Linked DNA regions of Homo sapiens: all the other regions are linked to region 2. The links are contacts of gene promoters, found by promoter capture Hi-C in blood cells and fetal thymus (Javierre and others, 2016). All regions are on one chromosome and are shown on one strand. The core of a region is centred on a gene start or on the middle of the fragment in contact, and the rest is flanking DNA. Distances in the headings are between cores, read along the strand shown. Region 1 holds the start of SIGLEC6 (sialic acid binding Ig like lectin 6). Region 2 holds the start of FPR1 (formyl peptide receptor 1). Region 3 overlaps SIGLEC5 (sialic acid binding Ig like lectin 5).

Region 1 (3,961 bases), core at 1,089-3,588, 220 kb before region 2:
TAAAAATTAGCTGGGCATGGTGGTGGGCGCCTGTAGTGCCAGCTACTCGGGAGGCTGAGGCAGGAGAATCTCTTGAACCCGGGAGGTGGAGGTTGCATATGTCAGATTACCATGTTGCAGTGAGCCAAGATCGCACCATTGCATTCCAGCCTGGCAACAGAGTGAGACCCTCTCTCAAAAAAAAAAAAAAAAAGGGAAAATGTGGACACAGACGCACATGTGGACACAGACACCACCATGTGAAGATTAAGTCAGAGGTCGAGGCAATGCTTCTTTAAGCCTAGGAACGCCAAAGACTCCCAGGAAACCACCAGAAGCCAGGGAAGGAGCATGGAAGAGATTCTCTCACAGCCTCAAAAGGAACCAACTCTAACACCATACATGATCTTGGACTTCTGACCTTGAGAACCGTGAGACAATAAATCCCTATTGTTTAAGTCGTGCACTTTGAATTACTTTGTTATGGCAGCCCTAGCAAACTCATACAAGGACCCAGGCTTCTCTTCCCCCAATTGTCACCTCTTAGCAGACTCCTGACCTGGCAGCAGCTGGGACAGAGCTGCTCTGGGATGTTCTGGGCCTCAAAGCTGAGCCTGAGACTTGAGCTGAATCCCTGGCAGGGGCTCAGGGAGCTGTTGACCAAGGGTCCGGCTGGCTGGGGGTGACTGTGAAGGAGCCATGGCTGCTGTTCCCATCCCTCCAGAATCTCCTCCCCAAGCTGCCAGTGCAGGGAGGAGCCACTGCAGTGTGGACTCTAAGCCTCCCAGAGGTAGGAGGGTCCCAGCAGTTGTGAGGGGTCTGGGGAGGGAGGACAGGACTTAGCAGGGGCCTCTTCTCTGAATACTATGGAGCTCTCGCCCAGCTGCCCACACTCTCGCGCACCTCCCCCCACACTCACAATGCACAAAGAGACTCAGAGAGATTTGCAGGGAGCCCAGAGGATGCTGAGCACGGCAGGTGAAATCTCCTTCTTCTGCAGACCCTACTTGAGGCAGCTCCAGGACCCCGGTATTGGAGATGGGGGTGGCGTTCAGGGCGGGGAAGCCCTGGAACCAGCTCAGGTGTGCAGGGGGGTTGCCGTCAGCATCACAGAGCAGCCGCAGAGCCTGGCCCTCCAGGACAGGGAGGGACGAGGTGTTTTGCAGGATTTTGAAGGCTTTGGGGAGAGAGGTGTAGAGAGTTAGAGATGGGGTATAGGGGCAAAGCACTGGTGTCCCTCTCCTCCTGTGGGGTCCACACTAGCTCTGAGGAGGAGACTAGTAAAGTGGGGGCCTCAGGTCTTCAGAAAAGCCCAGACCATTTCCCTGGAGCTGCCCAGGCTGTCCTGCAGAGAGTGGAGCAAGGGCTGCGGACAGCGTCGTGGCAGACAAGTGCCATTCCTGGACCATGGAGACGCCTGAGGCAGTAGGAAAACAAGCAAGAGAGAAGAGGGAGTGCGAGGGGTGTGGCAGCTCCTGCCGAAGAGGCGACAAAGGCTGGGGGTGAGCAAAGATTCAGTCCAGGTCTTTGAAGTCTATGGAGGCCTTAGTCCTGGCTTCTCATATTGATCCCCGTTAGTCCCCACTCTGCTTCCATCTGGCCCTGGAGAGAACAGGACTGGCTGGTTCCTACCTGCGCTGTTTCCTTGGAAGATGCTGATGGCCACTTTCTGTGGAGCATCTGGGGTGGAAAGAGGTGGCCGCCTCAACATCCCTGAGGAGGGATGGTAGGCATGGGGCCTTCCCCTCAGGAGCCATGAAAACAGGGAAAGGGGCTCTCCTCTTTGGCAACCAGGTCCCCAACTTTAAGCTCTGGCTCAGCCCTGCCCTGTCCCCCCACACCCTCAGGGACCCGGGCGTCCTGGCCCAGCACTCACAGGAGACATTGAGCTGGATGGTTCTCTCCATGGTCACACCGGCTCCAGGGAACGTCACCTGACAGGTGAGGTTGGTGCTGTGGTCCTGGGGCCGTGGGGTGATTGTGAGCACCGAGGACTGGGTGGTCCTGGGGCCCAGGGAGGTGGGGGCAGCTGACATCCAGGAGAAGATGGGGGGCGTCCCCTGCTCACAGACCCAGGGCACAGAGCAGGTCAGATTGCTGGGATGGCCAGACTCCAGGGTCCCTGGGATGGAGATGTTGGGCCTGTGGGTCAGGGCTGGTGAGGAGATGGGGACGCAGGATCAGGATGGAGGTCTGAGGTTTCACCCAGGGGGAAGCCCAGTCTCTGGTCCAGCTCCTTCTCTGAGCCCAACATGCTTAATTGTACCCGCCTCCCAAGACGGGGCTCCCGTCCCAGCCCTGCCCTACGGCCCCCATGACCTTCCCCTGTGGCTAGTCCTGGAGCTGGTTCCTTACCCATCACACGCACAGAGAGCTTGGAAGATGTATAACCGTATTTCATCCATTTGGACTTCAACCGAAAGAAGTATGCAGCATTGTCCCTCCTCCGGGCATCTCTGATGCTCAGGGAGCAGTTCTTCCTTCTGGGATCCCAGAGGAGGTGGAATCGGCCCCGGGTCTCCTCCTGCACTTCTTCGTCTGGGTCGTTTGTGGCCACTGGAACATCAGCCCCTTCCAGGAACCAGTAGCCATAACCATAGTACGAGGCTGGAAGGGTAGTGGGCAATCTGCAGGGTACGAGGACGCACAGACCCTCCTGCACCGTCAGTGACTCTGGCCCCTCCAGCTGGAATCTCCGCTCCTGAGCCAGGGCCCCTATGGAGACATGAGGGTCAGCTCGGCCCAGCCCCACGGCACCTCTCCCCTGGCCCACTCACCTGCCCACAGCAGGGGCAGCAGCAGCGGTAGCATCTCTGAGGCGGAGGCTTCCTGGGCTCCCTGCATGAGCAGAGAAGGGGAAGGGAGTGGAGGGGAAGGACTGCGGGGAGGAACGGGTGGCTGGGGAGGAGCGCGTGATCTCGGCTGTTCACAGAAGAGGAACTGCGAAGCCACAAGCCCTCGGAGCTCCACTCCCTCTGCACAGAGCAGACGGAAACTTTGAGACCCAGAGACCTGCCCAAAGAAGAGCAGAGGAGAAGAGACTGTGTCCCGCCTCCCACCTCGGGGCTTCCTGTGAGCAACAGAGCCCGGACCAGGGCCTCCCGGGGCATCTGAGGAATGCGAAACCTGTGTCCAAGGCCCTGCCCACCTGAGGTGCTTTTCTGTGCACCACTGTTTACACCTGGGAGCTGGTCACTCCTGGCCCCAGAGAGTCACAGCCTCATCCCACGCCATGAGAAAGTCAGTCCTGCAGGATATAGGATTCTGTAGGGTCTGTGGGAGTGTCTGGGACAGTGAAAGGAAGAAGGGTCCCAGGTGCAGTGTGGGTGATAGCCACTCATTCATTCACTCATTCATTCATTCATTCATTCATTCACCAAAGACATAGTGAGCATCTGTATGTAGGTCGGGCTGGAGAAGAGATGCCAGGGACCTGGTCCCTACCCTTGAGATGATCCCCATCCATAGCTTCCCATCCTCAGCACACACCCTCACTATCTAGCTTTAGAGCTGTGGACACTGGTGAGTTTGCCAAGTGACACAGTAGAATGCCAGATATTTTTTAAAACATGAGTATGGAGGTTTTTCCTTGACAGCTAGTACGCTGATTTACAAAATTTCAATGACATCTCCAAAATAAGAACCATGCAACATCTTCATGTAAATCAAAAAGGACACATATTTTATGAACTGCAGTGCAGAAGAAACTTCTTTTGAATTAATGTTGCCACTCAGTGCAGTGTGGACTGGAGAGATTTTTTTTTAGGTCCTCATCATAGAGATTAGCAATTTCTTTCCTGTGAAAAATCTGCTTCTCACAGTTAAATGTGGCACAAAAGACATATTTCTGGACAACGTGAGCAGAATATCCTGACAAAATTAAAATTTTTAGGTCTAGCTCACATGGTTTTCTATTTTCCTCTGTGCAGTATGCATCTGGCAAATCTCTAATACCTATGAGGTATTAGAATTTGCCACCATA
Region 2 (4,345 bases), core at 1,031-3,530:
CAAAGTGCATGTCAGGTTCTTGCTGAGAGCTGGCCTTCTCTCTTTTTTTTAATTTATTTTATTTTATTTATTTATTTATTTTGAGATGGAGTCTCTCTCTATCACCCAGGCTGGAGTGCAGTGGCGTGATCTGAGCTCACTGCAACCTCCGCCTCCCAGGTTCAAGCAATTCTCCTGTCTCAGCCTCCTGAGTAGCTGGGATTTCAGGTGCACGCCGCCGTGCCTGGCTAATTTTTCTTTTTAATTGTATTTTAGTAGACATGGGGTTTCACCATGTTGCCCAGGCTGGTCTCAAACTCTTGAGCTCAGGCAGTCCACCTGCCTCAGCCTCCCAAAGTGCTAGGATTACAGGTGTGAGCCACTGCGCCCGGCCTGGTCTTCTCTTCTAATGCTTGCAGCAGCCTTCCTCAAAATTGTTACTATGAGGGTCACTGTCTTTATGGTACCCATTTTGCAGACGAGGAAAGTGCGACTTAGAGCATTTCAGTTAATTCCTTAAAGTCACCCAACAGCCCAGGCTGTCGAATTCCAGCAAAAGTCTCTTTCTGCCTCTGCCCTGCCACGCTACTGGCACAGAAGAGCTGTCTAATGCACTAGTCACTCACCACATGTGGTTTTCAAGCACTTGAATTGTGGCTAGTCCAACTGGAGACAGGCTGTAGGAGTAAAATACCCATCAGATTTCAAAGACTTAGTATGAAAAAAATATTGTGACCATCTCATTAATAGTTTTTATATTGACTACATGTTAAAATGATAATAATTTGGCTATTTAAGTTTAGGTTAGATATTTTATTAAAATTAAGTTCGCATGTTTCTCTTCACCTTTTTAAAGTGCCTACTTGACACTTTGAAATTACATATGTGTCTCACATTTCTAATGAACTTTGATACTCTACAATCTCAGAAACAACTCAGAGATGTCTCCCTCCCCTACCACCCATCCAACCACCAAAATACCCTGAGGACTCTTTGTCCTCAAGAATCTCTAAGGCAACCAGTTCAGAAGATTGTTGCAATGAATGATGAGGATTCTGCAATAATGAGCTGGAACATACCAGAGAGGAAAACCTGTGCAATTTTGTCCAATTATGGTTCAAGGGAAAAATCCTGTGATTTGCAATGAACACAGGCCTTGGTGGCTGCCATCGATGAAGGACTTTATGCTTGATAATCATTGTACCACATCCTCAACTTTCTTGCCTCTGATCTCAACAAACTCAGCATTGATTATACATCATCATCCCTGTGTGACGGAAGAGGAAACTAGGAGCTTGATGAGAAATGACAGCCAATGTCTGCAGATTCATGAGAGGGCAGGGCTGTATTCCGCTACTGGGTCCTATGCACCATGCAGAACCAGTGTCTTCACGTGGAGACTCATCACTGATCCGAAAGGTGACTGCTTCTGTATTACACTCATTTCCCCATGACCCATCATAAAGTCGTTAGGGCTCTTTTGCTTTCTCCTGAAAGCTTCAAACCAAACATCCTTTCCCATCCCGACTCAAGCCCTCAAGCTGATGCCCTTGCCTCTTGCTCCACCAGATTCTCCTCCTGCTGGCTCCTGCATCACTGTTCTCTGCCCTCATCTCTGTAACCAGAAAACAAGTGTTTCCATCCAAGAATTACCCTCTACTGGTCCCATAAAACTCATTCCCCCATTTACTCAAGAACTTCCCTCCTTCACTTATCCCTTCTCTCTCCTGCAGCCTCATAGTGTCTCTATATTCCATCATTCCCATCAGGACCCCAATAAAGTCTAGAGCCTATTTGTTTATTTATTTATTTACTTATTTATTTGAGATGGAGTCTCACTCTGTCACCTAGGCTGGAGTACAGTGGTGCAATCTGAGCTCACTGCAACCTCCACCTCCCAGATTCAAGCAATTCTCCTGCCTCAGCCTCCCAAGTAGCTTGAATTACAGACGCCCACCACCACGCCTGGCTAATTTTTGTATTTTTAATAGAAGTGAGGTTTCAACATGTTGGCCAGGCTGGTCTCGAACTCCTGACCTCAAGTTATCCACCTGCCTTGGCCTCCCAAAGTGCTGGGATTACAAGCATGAGTCACCGTGCCCGGCCTGTTTAGAACCTCTTTAAAAAAATTATTCTTCAACTCCACATCCTTCTTCAAACAAAGAGTCTATTGTGTTCACCAGTGTATTAAGTGTGTCTATGTCAAGCTACCCAGTCCCCCAGAATATGTTTCTTACCTGGACTGTTCACCAGCTGTGGTCTTGCTCTGGGTAGTTCTAGGTCTGGGTCTCCTGGGGAGAGTGACTCAGGCTCTAATGATTGCAGCAAAACATACACCAAGGAACAGGAGGAGGGGTAAAGGAACTAAAACCAGCTGGGTAGCAGGAAATAGGAAGTCTGAGCTTCTTCTGATTTTTGATGGCCCCAAGAATACACCAATATACTGTCTGCTTTAATGGCATTAGGACAGTGGGCTGGGCCTGTTTAGAAACTCATGTACCTGACTGTATTTCTCAGCCTCAGTCTCTGTGGGATGCAGAGGTTCAGTGCTCTCAACAACAAGGGCCAAGAAATCCAAGTGTCCGGGCCCCTGCTCCCTCCAAGGGTCAAGGTAAAGAAAGCAGCAAGCACTGTGGTGAGAAGAATCAGAGGGAGGCAATGAAAGGAAGAGAAGAAGTCATGAGGGATGGAGACCAGAAACACAGAGAGAGGTAAGGGAGTGGGGGAAGTTGAGACAGTTGGCAGGACAGCGCGTCCACACCCATGCACACCACCAAGATTAACCCCATAATCCTCTGATCTTGTGGAAGCTCATTTGTAGTCTTCTAGCCCAAAGAAATAACCGTTTTTCTGAAATGTTAAGCATCCTTCCAAGGGTATCAGAGTGATATGGAGAAATATGGTAAGACAGTTACAGAATCAGAGATAACGACACTGATTCTAAAAGCATTATTACCAAGGCATTGTTGCATTAAGACTGTTTTTTCTTTTCTTTTAGAGACAGTATCCTGCTACGTTGCCCAGGCATGTCTCAGACCCCTGGGTTTAGTGATCCTCCTGCCTCAGCCTCCCCAAATGCTGGGATTACAGGCATGAGCCGGGCTGTTTTTAATTCTAAGTAATTTATAATTTACAATTACACCTAACAATGGCTTCAACAAGGGGTGTCCAATCTTTTGCCTTCCCTGGGCCACACTGGAAGAAGAAGAATTGTCTTGGGCCACACATAAAATACACTAACACTAACGATACCTGATGAGCTAAAAAAAAAAAAAAAAAAAAAAATCCCCCAAAAATCTGATAATGTTTTAAGAAAGTTTATGAATTTGTGTTGGGCTGCATTCAAAGCCATCTTAGGCCATGGGCTGGACAAGCTTAGCTTAGAACCAAGACGAAATTTATGGTTTACTTTACAAGAATTTTGCAAGAGGGTAATACTAGGTTAGGTTATATCTGGAAAATATCATCAAGAACTACATTCATTTTAATCTTTTCTCTTTTTTATCCCTAATATGGTGACTTTTTTTCCTGGGGATTGCCACTTCATGGCTCCAAGAAAGCTACCACAGCTCCTGACTTCACATTACAGCAGGGGTCCCCAACCTCCAGGCCATAGACCAATACACAGACCGATACCGGTCTGTGGCCTGTTAGGAAGTGGGCTGCACAGCAGGTGACTGGCAGGTGAGCAAGAGAAGCTTCATCTGTATTTATAGCCACTCCCCATTGCTGGCATTACTGCCTGAGCTCTGCCTCCTGTCAGATTAGTGGCGGCATTAGATTCTCATAACAGTGTGAACCCTACTGTGAACTGTGCATGCCAGGGATCTGGGTTGTGTGCTCCTTATGAGAATCTAATGCCTGATGATCTGTCACTGTCTCCCATCACTCCCAGATGGGACTGTCTAGTTGCGGGAAAGCAAGCTCAGGGCTCCCACGGATTCTACATCATTGTGAGTTGTATAATTATTTCATTGTGTATTACAATGTAATAATAATAATAGAAATAAAGTCTACAATAAATGCAATGTGCTTAAATCATCCTGAAACCATCTACCCCGCCACCCCATGGAGAAATTGTTTTTTATGAAACTGGTCCCTGGTGCCAAAAATGTTGGGGACTGCTACACTCCAGCATCCCACACCAGGAGGATGGGGATGAGATGGAGAATCACTGAAGATCTTTAATCAGAAGGGTGATATGTTCATTTGTACTTTATAAACATTTGTGTTTGTATTTTATAAACATTTTCTTGGGATCATAACAACAGATGCATTTTAGAAGATTCCCAAGGTATGAAGGGTAACAAATGAAGACGTGCCTAGGAGTCACATGGAAGCCAACACTTTGTAAGGGGATTAAAAT
Region 3 (3,217 bases), core at 8-2,507, 140 kb before region 2:
GGGGGTCACAGGCTGGGCACTCAGGCAGCAGGTGGTGTGCCAGGATAAAGGAGTATTCTGTGAAAGTCACACTGTGAACATGATGGCCAGATCTCTGGGGTTCCCATTCAAGGCCGGGCTAGATTTTATGACCACTCCCCAAAGAGAGACCTCAACACCAAATAAGAGAAAAATACAACAAATGGTTCCCACAGGGAAGTTGGGCTGATGTGACATTTATCAATTCATCCTTTTATAATCCACTCCTCCTAAGGACAGGCCATAGGCTGCCTAGGTCAGGGTCTATGTCTGATTTCTCACACTGTACGTGCCCAGGAACCGGCACAGGGCAGACAGGGCTGGGTTCAAATCCCGGCCCCACCTGTCCATATACATTTCCTGTGAACTCAACTATTCGCTCATTCTTTCAAAATTTTGTAATACTATGATTGATCAGACCATATTGAGGACTTACTAATCACATTGAATCATCACCAAAAAAAAACCCACAACAGTATAAAAGATATTCTAATTATCCCCACCTTACACACAGGGAAACTGAGGTGGAGAGAGGTTAAGTAGCTTGCCCAGGGTTATTCATCTAATACATGGCGAGGCCAGGATTCGAACTCAGCCCTGTCTCCCCTGTTTCAGGTTCTGGGCACGTACAGTGTGAGAAATCAGACATAGACCCTGACCTAGGCAGGAGGAGCGGATTATTGATGAAGCAAATGTATACCTTCGGCATAGGTTACAAGGTGTCTTATGTGCAAACCAGAAAAGAGATGGCAATTCTGATCCTGGACCCAGTTTCCATGAAAGAGAAACAAAATGGAGCAGATCCTGTCCCCAGCAAAGATGGTAACCAGATACAAGTAAGCAATTTCTTTCCTCTCCCACCTTCACCCATATCCCTACCCATCACGCTATGGAAAATATGTTGAAAGCAACGTGAGTCTTCAAACAGTAGCTCAGAAGTTTTCTTTTTGAGACAGAGTTTCACTCTGTCATCCAGGCTGGAGGGCAGTGGTGTGATTTCGTCTCACTGCAACCTCCCGTCCCTGGCTCAAGCAATCCTCCCACCTCAGCTTCCTGAGTAGCTGAGACCACAGGCACAAGCCACCATGCCCAGCTAATTTTTGTAAAGACAGGGTTTCGCCACGTTACCCAGGTTGGTCTCAAACTCCTGGGCTAAGCGACTGGCCCAGCTTAGCCTTCCAGAGTGGTGGGATTACAGGTGTGAGCCACCACACCTGGCCATACAGTTTTTTTAAAAGGACTCCGCAGTTAGGGAAAAATGGCTTCATTGTGTCAGAAAAAAATAGACTTTCTGGAGAGAGCTGCTTATATTAGGCACAAGAAAGATGAAATAAAATGAAAAAGTGGCTATGCACACCAGCATTATGCAGGCAAAGGAAGAAATAAAGACATATGTCTATCAATAGGTGTGCGGTATATGAAATAAAAAGGGTGAAATTGACAACTGAAAGAAAAGGCACAGCTCAGATTAGTAAATAGGACAATGCAGTATGTTCACCCTTTCACTCAATAGCTCTTTGCTGAGTGCTTTCTTTGGGCTAGATGCCGTTCGTATAAATGAGGACATAAAGCAGACTGAAACCACCCAAATACCTCCCCGTCATGCAGTTCCTTGTTAGACAGAAGGAAAAGTAATACTGGGTAACAGTTATAAGTGAGCTCCCTGTGAGCTTGCCACTTTACTAAGCACTCCTTGTAACAATCCGAGACAGATACTAGCATATTAATAACCCAATTTCTATAGGAGAAAACAAAAAAACAGAGAGGTTCATTAGCTTATCCAAGGTCACACAGCTTGCAAGTGGGTGAATCTAGAACCTGAATGCAGGACGTCAAACTCCAGGGACCATGCTGTGCCTCGCTTTACCATTCTGCCTATGGCATGAAAGTGTGCAGAATGGTTAAAGGTAAAATAAAGGAGAAAACAAAGCTCTCTCTACCATAGTTCTTGTCAAAAGAGTGAATTCATACACCGGCTCTGTTCTCCAAGACCTACCAATGATGGAACTAAAGATGGAGCTCCTGGGTGAACAAAACTTTACAAATCAATTTATGATCAATCAATCACACTGATATCCCTAGGGGAAAGTTAAGGCTCATTTGAAGAAAAGGGGTGGGAGAACTGGGCGGGGGGACAGCTGGCTTGTTGAGAGGATGGGTTAGCCCAAACATACTTGAATTCTGCTCCTTTCTCTCCTCTACCCTTCCAGTGGGACAAACATTGTCTGCCCCTCACTGCAGAATTCAGAGTATGGACAGGATTATGATGTGCCAGTGTCCAACAGGCATGTGTTGGGTAAGCACCAGAGGCCCACTGGGGTGAGGAGAAGGAGAACGGAGGTGGAAGCTCACTGGTCTTTGACATTCTCCTTGCCATTTTCTCCACTCCAAACTCCCAGGGCTGGTGGATCACAATGCAACGAGAGTCCTTGACCAATGTTGCTTCTCCACGAGGGTCTGAAGATGGAGGGATGACTTAAGCTGCCTTACTGGGGTGATAGGAAGTGGGACTGGTTGGGTGTGGTTTGGGTTCTTGAGGGGATCCACCCTGGGGCTTGTCCCAGTCATTTCTCTTTTTTTGAGACGATGCTTCACTGTTGTTGCCCAGGCTGGAGTGCAATGGCATGATCTCGGCTCACTGCAACCTCCACCTCCCAGGTTCAAGAGATTCCCCTGCCTCAGCCTCCCGAGTAGCTGGGATTACAGGCATGTGCCACCACACCTGGCTAATTTTGTATTTTTAGTAGAGACGGAGTTTCTCCATGTTGGTTGGGCTGGCCTCAAACTCCCGACCTCAGGTGATCTGCCCACCTCGGCCTCCCAAAGTGCTGGGATTATAGGCGTGAGCCACCGTGCCCGGCGTCCCTGTCATTTCTTTGGCTCAGTAAGCCTGACACAGGCCAGCATCTGCCCTTCCCTCATTCAAGAAACACTGCCAGAGTAGCCAATAACCCCAGGGGAATGTGAGCTCACAGCTCAGAAGGCTGGGCACCTTTGAAGAAAAGCAAACCAACAGAACCTGATAGACCACTAGAAGCACAAGTACTAGGACGCTTTGGTCAAGAAGCTAAACTGAGCATATTACATGCACTAAAAAGATGTGGCAATATTAGCAGCATGAAAACAAGCATAAGAAACTTTGTCAATAACAAAGTGTGCATGCAAAATGAATGTGAAACATAATAAGGAATTATGTAAT

Evidence for each region. The method cuts DNA at HindIII sites, captures the fragments that hold promoters and counts their contacts. A CHiCAGO score of 5 or more calls a contact.
Region 1: a contact is called between a fragment that was not itself captured here and the fragment with the promoter of FPR1 in region 2, in 1 of 17 cell types (monocytes). The highest score is 7.1, in monocytes.
Region 3: a fragment that was not itself captured here is called in contact with the fragment with the promoter of FPR1 in region 2 in 2 of 17 cell types (neutrophils and monocytes); the score reaches 10.7 in neutrophils.

What each region holds. Positions count from the first base shown.
Region 1 is chr19:51,528,826-51,532,786 of GRCh38, forward strand. It overlaps SIGLEC6 (sialic acid binding Ig like lectin 6), which reads right to left and starts at 2,845. Exons shown (of 8, transcript NM_001245.7): 1 at 2,757-2,845; 2 at 2,335-2,694; 3 at 1,856-2,134; 4 at 1,612-1,659; 5 at 899-1,156. The coding sequence starts at 2,823. The HindIII fragment of the contact is 5,335 bases long and covers 1-3,961 here.
Region 2 is chr19:51,749,598-51,753,942 of GRCh38, forward strand. FPR1 (formyl peptide receptor 1) reads right to left here and starts at 2,281. Exons shown (of 2, transcript NM_002029.4): 1 at 2,217-2,281. The HindIII fragment of the contact is 1,877 bases long and covers 1,475-3,351 here.
Region 3 is chr19:51,613,196-51,616,412 of GRCh38, forward strand. The region is part of intron 8 of SIGLEC5 (sialic acid binding Ig like lectin 5); the gene reads right to left. It overlaps LOC124904753 (a long non-coding RNA gene), which reads left to right. Exons shown (of 3, transcript XR_007067313.1): 2 at 634-854; 3 at 2,229-2,521. Among named protein-coding and RNA genes, the nearest start is that of SIGLEC5, 16 kb to the right of the region's middle. RefSeq lists a silencer at 2,472-2,621. The HindIII fragment of the contact is 7,305 bases long and covers 1-3,217 here.